3 separate regions of the Homo sapiens genome follow, and regions 1 and 2 are each linked to region 3. Evidence: promoter capture Hi-C in human tissues and cell types (Jung and others, 2019). All regions are on one chromosome and are shown on one strand. Each heading gives the region's core, a stretch centred on a gene start or on the middle of the fragment in contact. The rest is flanking DNA. Distances are from core to core; before and after follow the strand shown. Region 1 overlaps MED27 (mediator complex subunit 27). Region 2 overlaps SETX (senataxin). Region 3 holds the start of NTNG2 (netrin G2).

Region 1 (3,772 bases), core at 949-3,448, 120 kb before region 3:
ATGGAGAAGTTCTCAAGCTTGAAAGCAAAGAAACCACAAAGAACACTATTAAGAGATTTGCCGTACAGTTTAACTTTATCATCAAACCTGTCACTTACCACGTGAGTGCTATGTGTCGGGCACTCTGCTGAGAGGCGGGAGAACTCAGGGGCTAGTGAAGAGGAAGCTGTGTAACTGAAGCTCTGTGCACCTCAGTTTCCTCAGCTCTCAAGTGAGAACGATAATAATAATAGTACACACGCCTCCAGGCTCTTGTGGGGACTAGATGTGTTAATTCACGCAAAGTACCTAGCATGGTGCCCCGCACATGGCAAGTGCTCAATAAGTGCCGGCCATTGTCATTATGAGTCGTAACAGTGCAGCTCCAGTACTGACTCCATCCCGAGGTACTGAGCGAAAAGAAGGTTGGGTCTCACAAGTGGCCACTGAGCTAAATTCACCGCCAGTCTGTCTGCCATCAAAGGCCACACTGGATCCAAGGTACACTTCAAGGAGGGGAACCCTACTTCAAAGGAGAGTGAGTGAACACCCTGTGTCCCAAGGACGAGTGGAAGAGGACCCAGGAAGCCAGAGTCCACCTGCTTGGCAATCCCTCCTACCCCTTAACCGCCACTGTGTGCTCCGTTCAGTGCTGGCCCTGGGGAGAAAAAGACACTCAAGACAGGGTCCTGCCTCTAGGAGTTTCACTGGCTACAAAGGACACCACTCGCCTCTGTGACTGCAGGTCCCTCCCTTATAAAAGATAGTACTTCTGTGGCCTCTCTGCTAATTCTGAAATTTCATGATTCCAAGCTTTGTTTTGTTGTCTTGTTTCATAAGACCATAGAAGGGTGAAAAGTATCAATAAAAAAGTGGGACATTTTGATAAAGAGAAAATACACAATATTCCCCTTTCACATACACTTTACGATATGATAAATTTCACTCATACCACTACACCAATATCAGCTCCTTATACATCACTTTTCAAAATGCTGTCAGCTACAAATTGATGACCTGTGAGATTTCACCTTGTCGTGCTCAGCATCAGTCCCCGCATATGGGCTGCCCAGCACTAAACAAAGCTGCTGCCAGCCACCAGGGGCCTCAGTCTCTTCCCTGCGGCGGGGAAATGAATTATTAAAAGATTAAAAAGCAAATGCCATCACCTTTTTGCTTTATTTCCCTGTGGGAGAATACTTTAAACCAAACTAGGTAAGAAACCGCATGGCAGGTTGCTTAAGAGCAGCCATTTATACACAGAGAAATCTAAGTTGGGATGAGAGGTGGGGCCGTGGAGAGCGGCTGGCTGGTCTTAGGCGGCTCCACATGCAGAGAAGGCATCACCTGACGAGAGACTGCCCGTACAAATGTCACGAGAAAGCTATAAATAGGGCTTTAGATCTATACATTGGGCAAAAGTGTGGTGTGGAAAACAAATACTAAGGCAGCATGTTTACTTTTAGCTGGGAGCAGACGGCAGAGCTTAACTACACCCAGACCTTCCAGCCCATCAGGCTTCAATCTGGTCAAGGACATGAAGGTCCCAGCAAGGAGCACTCAAGGTGACAAAGTGCTCGGCTCCACCAGCACATCTCTGTTTCTGCCGGTACGCCCTGTGCACGTGCACACACACCGCACACTCAAGCACCAGCACACACGGCAGGATATTCTAGGAAGGCCCAGGCAACGGTTTGATTTCCTCCCATATGCTTTGTCAAACAACTAGGTGCTTCCATCATTTTCCCTCATGTTGAGATTAGGGGAGGGGAGGGGGCCACAGCCTGGTTCCAAAGAGTTAAGCTGCACTCGCAGCCAGGACCCAGAGCCACTGCCATCTCACCACTCCAGAGGCAAGGCGTACAATTTATCTGGAAGCAGTGCAACACAGCAGCCCTGCTGGCAGCTGTCATCAGACCACACCACGGGCAGCAGAGAAGAAGAGCAGAAGGGAAGAACAAGAAAGAGGAAATAAAGTAAAGAGGGGTAGAGAGAAGAAACAAAAAGAGCAAAGGGAAAAAGAGGGTTGTCAACAACTGCCTCTGTGTCCCTCAGCACCTAATGTGGGCTGTGAGGGAGACGACAAGCTCGCTAACAGAGCAGAGAGGATGGCAGTGAGGGTCCAAAGTGGGAGAGTAGACAGTCATGCTGAGAGCCCAGACTTGAGTGGACTGAACTGAGCACGCACACACGACTAAAGAGTCTGCATATTTTCATGGCTCACACATCCACTCTCACACCATCAGCTCTGTGATTTGGGTGCAAGGAAACATTCTGTAGACACCAAGCTTTGGGAAGAACCAGGTATGGCATGTAGGGGTAGCACCAAATGAACATTTAACATAGGGGACTGCAGTTCTGCCAGACAGTAACCATCATGCTACCGACTGCAGCGTCCACAGAGCTCAGTCGCTCCCCATCTTCCTGTCGGGCACTGCAAGCACAGCCTCACACGGCGTCAGAAGGCCTGCAGTGCCCATGTGTGTTGTGACAAAGCTCGACTGAAAGATGGACAGTCACAGGATGTATGGAACAAAATGAAAGAGATTACTTTTTAAATTTTTAAATAGTCAAATAGTCAGTGTGCTGAAAAATTTGTTCTTAAGGGCCAAAGTCCAAATCAGTACGGTATGGCAAAGAAGAAAAGGGAGAAGCAATTACGTGCAAACACGTTCGTGGGGCCTGGCCTACGGTGGCAGCTGCCGCTGACTTTCTTCTTCTCAAGAATGCAAATGATTAAGATAGATTAAATACCTACTTTGCTTAAATACTCTTGATAATGAGTTTCTTTCCTTCTTTTAAGGGTGTTTGATGTTGGCAGTTGATGGATCTTGAGTTAAATTGTTTTAATTCAAAACAGGACCATCTGTTGTTAGGATCTGCCGGCACTGCAGAGAACCAGGGGAGGTGACAAAGTACGTGATCTAGAGATATGTGGAGACAGGCAGGTGGCGGGGTGGAAAGAGCACGGCACGGGAAGCACAGACGCTGCCAGTCTTGTCCCAGCTGGGCTGCTGAGTGGCCACAGGATCTGGGACTCAGTTTCTTCCTCTACAAATGAAGAGGCTGGCTTAAGGATGACAAAGATGATGGTGACGGCCATCACTACCGGCAGCTACAGTTATTAACCCATGCTGTGTGCCAGGCACGGAGAAAAGGCTTTCACTGAAACAGTCTCATGGACACCCTATTTATACATTGTATAAACTCTTTATGCTCGAAAGTGTGTATACTGATGTTGCCCCCATTTTACAGATGAGAAAACAGGCTTCACGAGGTAAAGTCACTTGCTGCAGGTCACAAGGCAAAAAGGAAGTGCCAAGAGGTATGAGACTTCAACGTCTGCACTCATAACCACAATGCCATACTGCCCAGGGACCTCTGGGACTGAAGATCCCACAATTCCTGCCCCTCCTTTATCCACAGTCTAGTGGCCACAATCTGCATTCACCGTGAGTCAGCACTGAAGGAAATGCCAAGAAGAACACTAAGCATTTCTGATGCTGGAATCTTAGATCTATGAGTGGACCCTGCTGCACACACCACCATTGCAAGTTAGATCTTATTTCACTGGGCTTCACTTTTAATCCACATCTGTGACCTGAATGTTGATGTGAGTTATAAAAATTAGCAAAAACTGAACTAGAGCCAGTGGAAAATCCCCAGCATTTGACTTTTTGAAAGGCTAGCCATCTTTCAAGATAGGTTTATTCATTTGGAACCATGGTATTGATTGTATAAAAGAGGTGATCACGTACCAATTAATCATGTGTACATTACCTTTGCCAACTCT
Region 2 (3,610 bases), core at 407-2,906, 100 kb after region 3:
TTTAAACAGGGGGAAAGAAAAGCGGTCTACTAGATTAAATTTTAAAAGGATTTTGTTATTTGCTATACAAATATACATTTCAACTTTTACAACATTCACTCCAGTCTGACCTCCTTGTCTATAGAAGACTAAGAGATCAACATTTCCAGTCTCTGACTTCAAGGACATTATTACGGATACACAATGCCCTCTGAAAGCTTTTGCAAATGACAGAAAATACTGAAGATGACCAGAGGCTCAGGTGTTAAGGATGCATTTTCCATGTTTTCCAACAGCACACAAACTCCTTACAAAAAACAAGCTTATCTAGATGGTCCCACGAGCTGGTCATCTTCAGTTTACAATATGCTGTGGCTGCTGGCCCATGTCACTGGGCTTTCCTATAAAAGCTTTCTTTTCTTGGAACTGCTGTCCTCCTGCTCCAGTGTCCTCTTGTCCCACCTAGAGTTCCTCCTGGTGTGATGGGTCTCGGAACCACACTTCTCCTGCTCCCCTTCACTGAAAGCCCTGGCCTCTCTCCTGTGACAGAGCTCCTCTTCCGGGTCATCACATTTGCTCTGACACGTGGAAGCCTCGGGACTGGCAGCTGGAGGTTCGCCCCGCACGGGAGGTTTGTGGCTGCTCAGAGCAGCCACTACAGCAGCGGGCTGCTGTATATGGCTCAGGTCCTGGTGAACGACAGGGAAGCCCGGCTCGCCCGTAGGAGGTGTTGCTCCAGGATGCTGGGGGCTCGAGGGTTGTGGATCCCAAAGGAATATTCCTCCTTTGACCTCAATGCCCATCCTCTTCAGCAGTCGTGGGTCCTGAAGTTGGTCATGAACAGGAGGTCTTTCAGGGTCCTTTGAAGTAACAGTAAGAGTAATTTCCTTGGAGTCAGAGGGTGTGTGGTATAGAGAAGCAGCAACAGATGTCTTGGCAAATCCACTGTCTAGCTTGCTGCTGGGCAAACCACCCTGGGGTCTGGACCCCTCTGGGGCTATGGTAGGAGGGTGAGTGAGACTTCTCTGCAGCACAGGCTTGAGTTTCAGAATCTTCACTGCATCATGTCTATAGTTTTTGTCACAGGTCTTAATAATGGCACCACGCTTCTGAGCATCCTGAATCAGCTGATTCCAATGCTGGTTTTCCTTGAAACAATGAGAAGGGAGAAATAATTACACCCCAAAGAGACACTGCTTGGGAAGCATAGAGTTCCAGCTTTCATTTCTGAACAAATAATACATATTATTGTATGAACATATTCTCAAGATTCATTACTCGTCAGACAAGGATGAAAGGAAAAAATAAATTCAAATAAAAAATGATAAAGTCCCATTCCTAAAAATAAGACCTGGTCACAACCTATAATGGAGAACTTCAACTTTTGTTTTTTTTTTTTTTTTTTTTGAGACAGAGACTCACTCTGTTGCCAGGCTGGAGTGCAGTGGCGCGATCTTGGCTCACTGCAACCTCCACCTCCCGGGTTCACGCCATTCTCCTGCCTCAACCTCCCGAGTAGCTGGGACTACAGGCACCCGCCACCACGCCCGGCTAATTTTTTGTATTTTTAGTAGAGACGGGGTTTCATCATGTTAGCCAAGATGGTCTCGATCTCCTGACCTCATGATCCGCCCGCCTCAGCTCCCAAAGTGCTGGGATTACAGGCAGGAGCCACCGTGCCTGGCCGAACTTCAGCCATTTTTATCAGTGCATTCAACTGCAACGCAGGTCTGCACTAGTCACTAGGAGCATCATGTTGCTATTTATATTTCAATAAATTAAAATAAAAAATTCTGTTCCTAAATTGCATCAGCCACATTTCAAGTACACAGCGGTCACACACGACTAATGGCTATTGTACTGAGCAGTGCAGACACAAAACATTTCCGTTATCACAGAAAGGTCCTTTGGACATTGGTGATCTAGAGTACTGCCTACACCTCTTGGCAGGGCTAACGTTCTGAAACAGGAAGGTCTGGTTTCAGAAAGCAAACTTCTGAGTGCATGTGACTATTCTAGAAAAAGGCCCAAGGCTTTCACTGGATTTCTAAAGGCCTCCCAAACCCCGAATGGCTAAAACATCTTCATCCACCGAGATCTCAAGATATCATCTCACTTTCTGCCTGTTTCCTACAGGAGCTTAAGATATTAAATCCCATCGGGAAAGTTGCCAAACACATGCACCTCTCCTCTCTTCCCGAGTTTCTTCAGAGGAGGCTGCTGCTTTACAACCACTAGAATTCGGGTCTCTTTAGAAAGAAGAAAGAAAAGAAGAAAAAGGATAGCTACCCTCTCATGGGGGCTCCTGTACTGTTCATAAAGGTATGTTAGGGAAGCAGTGAGGCTGCACAGTATTTACTTGCTGTGTGACCTTGGTCAAGTCACTTGACCTCTCTGAGCCTGTTTCCTCATCTGTAAAATAGGAGTAATATTTTATTTAATGGATTCTAAAGTGCACGTTGCTTTCACATTTTAGCATTTCTGACCTTGGGGAGCCTCTTGGCCATGTACCTATCCTTGGAAATTACATGATGAGGCAATTATAACCCTTAGACTTTTAGTCAATAAACCATTTAAAAATAATGCCTGAAAACCTTCTACAGACATTTTCTGATAAGACAAGATAACACCAGCATTAAAACTTATGCACTGGGCCAGGTGCAGTGGCTCATGCCTGTAATCCTAACACTTTGGGAGGCTGAGGCGGGCGGATCACCTGAGGTCAGAGGTTCAAGACGAGCCTGGGCAACATGGTGAAACCCCGTCTCTACTAAAAATACAAAAATTAGCCAAGTGTAGTGGTGCACAGCTATAATCCCAGGTACTTGAGATGCTAAGGCATGAGAATCGCCTGAACCCAGGAGGCGGACGTTGCAGTGAGCTGAGATTGTGCCACTGCACTCCAGCCTGGGCAACAAGGTGAGGCTCTGTCTCAAAAAAAAACCCCCAAAAAAACCTTATACACTGGAGATAAAGGGTTCTAAGAAATCCTGGAGACAATGGTGTAACTCTTAGCAAATGCTAAATTGCCAACCTTATTATTGCACTTGGGATGAATGACAACACTGATGACTATGGATTGGGAAGTGATTCATTCGTGCTAAATTCTGAAAGTGAAATATTTTTAGGAATATCTTAACCTATTATTTTACTTGTATTTTCTATGTATGGATAAGAATATGGTAAAAATCTGTCTAAAGTCTTAAGAGTCCTTTCAATAAATATGAAAGTTCTAAGTGAAAATAAGGCACTGTGTCATAGTCTAATAATGGTACATAAAATAGTGGTGTATATTATAATGAATGGTTTCTTGAATTTGATGAACTATGGTAATAAGCTGACTTCACAGTAGTTTTTCAAGGTTTGGAGAAAGTCATGTGACCAGAATAAAATGCTTGGCCCGGTGGCTGGCATACTGAAGACAGGTCTGTGGAGGGAGCGCCAGGCTCTGGGGGCTCAGTTCTCTTTCTCACTCAGATCTCTAGAGATCCTTAGCCTGTGGCTCAAACACATATGTGAAGCAGATGGCCTTGCAATTTTTGCTAAGTTCACTACACCTAAACTTGGTGTTTAATCCATTCCTAAGATCACAGAAACAGTTCTGAGCAGGCACTATTAGCCTTGGTTTCTC
Region 3 (3,347 bases), core at 254-2,753:
TTCCAAATATTATTCAGCAGTATAACTCCGTCTCCAGTTTTCAGGGCAGCTGAGAACAGGGAAGGGTTAAGGTGGAGGTGAAGGGTGGCAGCAGGGCGGGGCACTGAGGTGCCATGTCTTGCTCCATTCCCAACACCCTCTGTGACCTTGGGCTGGTCTCTCTCTCTCTGCCTCTCTCTCTGTCTGTCCTCAGGCCCTTTGTTCTTGATGCATCCAAATGACAGTGCTGGCTGCTCAAGGCTGCAGTGAGCCCACCCCAGGAGGCCAGGAGTGTCCGAAAACCACATGTGCTTCTGGAAGATGTGGAAACTCTCCCAGAAGCCCTGGGAGGCAGGCTGGCAGGAAACCTCCTGGGGATCAGAGAGCCCAGGGCTGCCGGATATGATATTGTGAACTCGGTGGCCTCTGCCCGGGGCTGCTGCTACCGGAGCCCTCCCACACCTGCCTCCCATGCTTGCAGGGGAGGGAGACAGAGAACCCCTCAGCCAGGCCCCTCCTGCCCCACTACTCTGCACTCCCTGCAGAGCTGGCTTGGCTTCGTCAAAAGCAGGGCCCATCAGGGTGGAGGCGGCGATGTGTCAGCTGGTATTCAGGCTCTGGTTGTGCGCTCAGATCGCTCCCCCTCCCCATCTCCCCAAATCCACCCACCCACCCCGGTACCCACTGCTTGGGGCCTTCTGGGTGGCAGCACTTCACAGAGAGAGACCGAGGAGCAGCCCTGAGCCCTTGGCTGTGGGGGGTGGGGGAACTGACTCACTTGGCCCCCCTCCCTCGTGCCGATGGGGCAGCCCCCACACCCATGGGCGCTGGCACCCCGGCAGGCCCCCGGGTTTTGGAAGAGGAAGCTGCAGCCCGGCTGCGCCTGACCGGAGCCGGCTGAGGATGCGCTCTGGGCGCAGGGACCCGCTGGCCCCCGGGCCGGGAGGCGATGTTTAGGCAGCGACCCCCCAGAGGCTGCCGGGGCCACCCTGGCCACGGGCCCGCCGGGACGCCCCTGCTCGCCGCGCCCCTCCCCGGGCCGTGGCGCGTCCCCCGAGCCGCGCAATATTTCCTTCCTGCACCTTTAAGAAGACCGTTGCTCCGTGGTGGGATGGTGTGTTAAAGCCACACAGAGGAAGTTACGCAGCCCGGATCAGACCGAGAGATAAAAGCCCCGATGGTGATCGTGAGTGATGGCAAGAGGATTTAGCCTCGGCATTAACTTGGAGCGGAGTGCAGGGGGGCAGTGAAGCGCCCGCCATCTGGCCCGCGCCGCGCCGGGGGGATGCCCCGGCTCCCCGACGAGACGCCGCGAAGCCCACCCGGGCCGGGGGCTGCCCGGCGCCCGAGCGCGGGTCCTCCCCGGGCCGCCCAGGGGGGCCAAAAAGTTTGCACTTGTTAGCGGCGACCTCCCGCTCAGCCCGGGCGGGCGATGCGGGCGGCGCGGGCGGCCCCCTCCCCCGGCCCGCGTCTCCGGGACGGCTGCGGGCGGCCCCCCCGGCGGCCGGAGGGCTCCCTGGCCCCGATCTGACGGCGGCGGCGGCGGCGGCCACAGCGGCGGGAGCGGCGCGGGGAAGGAGCAGCGGCTCGCAGCCCTCGGCCCGCGCCCCCACCCAGCGCCAGCCCGAGGGGGGAGGCGCAGCGCCGGAGGGTGGCGGTCCTCGGCCCTCCCAGGTCTCCGCGCCGGGAAGCCGCTCCGAGCCGGGGTAAGGCGGGCGGGGAGAGCCCGGGAGGCGGGCGGGGGGAGAGGCTGCAGCTTGGCCAGGCCGGTTTCATTTTTAAAGGGCTTCGGTGACCATGCAGGCTTGCCCGGGCCCGGGAGCCACTTACAGCGGCCCGGCAAAGGCTCGGATGCAAAAGTTGTTTGGTGGCGGCTGCTACGAGCTGAGAACTGGAGTCGCCCCAGAGGGGTGTGTGAGGGTGCGTTCTTAGCAGCATCTTAAAGGGGTAGCTTGTCTTTCTGGCCAGCTTCCCCCGGGTCCTTTCCGTCGTGTGTGTGAGAGTGTGTGTGTGTGTGTGTGTGAGAGAGAGACAGAGTGTGTGTGTGTGTGTGTGTGTGTGTGTGTGTGTGTGTGTGTGTGTGTCGGGGAGGGATGTTGCAAGGATGCTCGGATGTGTCTCGGAAAAGGAAACTAACCCTGCTCCCGCGCCTCTCCCCCACCCCAATTCCACCGCCACCGCTTAGAGCCACCCCCATCCCGTGCCCTCCCATCTCTCTGCAAACTGGGAGCCTGTGAGTTGCACAGAGAAACTCCCGGCCAGTCCGGCTGGAAACTTCTCCCGGCGCCGGGAGGGGGTCGGGAGGTGAGGGGGCGCAGGCACTGGTTTGGGGCCGGCGTGGAGTCGAACCTGGAACTGAGCGGCGCGCAGGTGGGGGGAGCAGAGGCGGCGGGAAGGCGGGAAGAGAGGACCGCGGGCTCGCGGGGTCCGCCCGCTCCGGAGTAAGTTGGCCGTCTGGGCTGGGGGCGGCGGCGGCCGGGTCGCCACAGGCGGCAGCGCCGGGGCAAAGGATACAGCCAGTTCCTGGGCGCCCTGCTCTGTGTCTTTTAATTAAGAGAGGCAGTGCCGAAAAAGGGGGCGCCTCAGTCCCGGCCGGGCCTTTATTACGGGCTTAATTATTAATTGCTGCCGTGGCTTGCACGCAACTTTGGGAAGACGAAAAGCAGCTGCGGGGCTGCCGGGTCGTCGGTGTCCTAGGCACAGGGCTCGCAGCCGGCCCGAAGCACTGACTCGACCCTGGCCCCGGCCTCGACCCCGCCCGCGGCCCGCCGGGACCCACCCGGGAGCTGCTGCTCGCGCCCCGCCTCCCGCGCCCAACTTTCCAGGGCTCCCGCGGGCGGGGACCCAGGGGCCGGATAAAGGGCCCGCTCCGGAGCGGGGGGACACCCGGGCCGCCGGAATTAAGAGGCCCGCCGAGGCTACAGTGAGCGCGGGGCGCCCGCTGGACCCCGCCCGGGGCAGAGGACGGGAAGGTGACCCCGCCGGCCAAGCTCCCTTTCCCTCCCGGCAACCGCCACTCTCCCCTGAAAGCAGATTTCACCCCCCTCTGCCGCCCCTGCCGAGGAGGGAGAGGGAACCCCGGGGTGGGCTGAGTATCCCCCCTAGCCCCGGGAGCCCCCAGCGCCCTCCCTCCCGTGCCCCCAGGGGCCCCGCGCCCGCCGCGGCAAGTTTCCCACACGGCGAGGGCGCAGCAGGCAACTCCAAGAGGAACCTGCTGGCGAGCCCAGCCAGCTCGGGAGGCGCTAATTCAATAAGACAGAGAAATCTGAGTTCAGAAATCCTGATAAAATCTAATTTTCGAGTTTTAATACCCTGGCTATCAGCCCCCCTTGGTTCCTGAGGACTCTTAAAAGAAAATAAAGCACATT

The links. The method cuts DNA at HindIII sites, captures the fragments that hold promoters and counts their contacts. A contact is called where the count stands out against the background at its distance.
Region 1: a fragment that was not itself captured here is called in contact with the fragment with the promoter of NTNG2 in region 3 in 2 of the 25 tissues and cell types used here (dorsolateral prefrontal cortex and hippocampus).
Region 2: a contact is called between a fragment that was not itself captured here and the fragment with the promoter of NTNG2 in region 3, in 2 of the 25 tissues and cell types used here (H1 embryonic stem cells and pancreas).

The regions. Positions count from the first base shown.
Region 1 is chr9:132,039,147-132,042,918 of GRCh38, forward strand. The region is part of intron 2 of MED27 (mediator complex subunit 27); the gene reads right to left. Among named protein-coding and RNA genes, the nearest start is that of MED27, 39 kb to the right of the region's middle. RefSeq lists enhancers at 1,156-1,657, 1,658-2,157, 2,640-3,772. The HindIII fragment of the contact is 6,261 bases long and covers 1-3,772 here.
Region 2 is chr9:132,263,859-132,267,468 of GRCh38, forward strand. SETX (senataxin) reads right to left here. Exons shown (of 26, transcript NM_015046.7): 26 at 1-1,127. The coding sequence ends at 381. Among named protein-coding and RNA genes, the nearest start is that of SETX, 89 kb to the right of the region's middle. The HindIII fragment of the contact is 6,889 bases long and covers 1-3,610 here.
Region 3 is chr9:132,160,555-132,163,901 of GRCh38, forward strand. NTNG2 (netrin G2) reads left to right here and starts at 1,504. Exons shown (of 8, transcript NM_032536.4): 1 at 1,504-1,685. It overlaps LOC124902291 (a long non-coding RNA gene), which reads right to left and starts at 1,146. Exons shown (of 2, transcript XR_007061826.1): 1 at 1,062-1,146; 2 at 1-49. The HindIII fragment of the contact is 9,283 bases long and covers 1-3,347 here.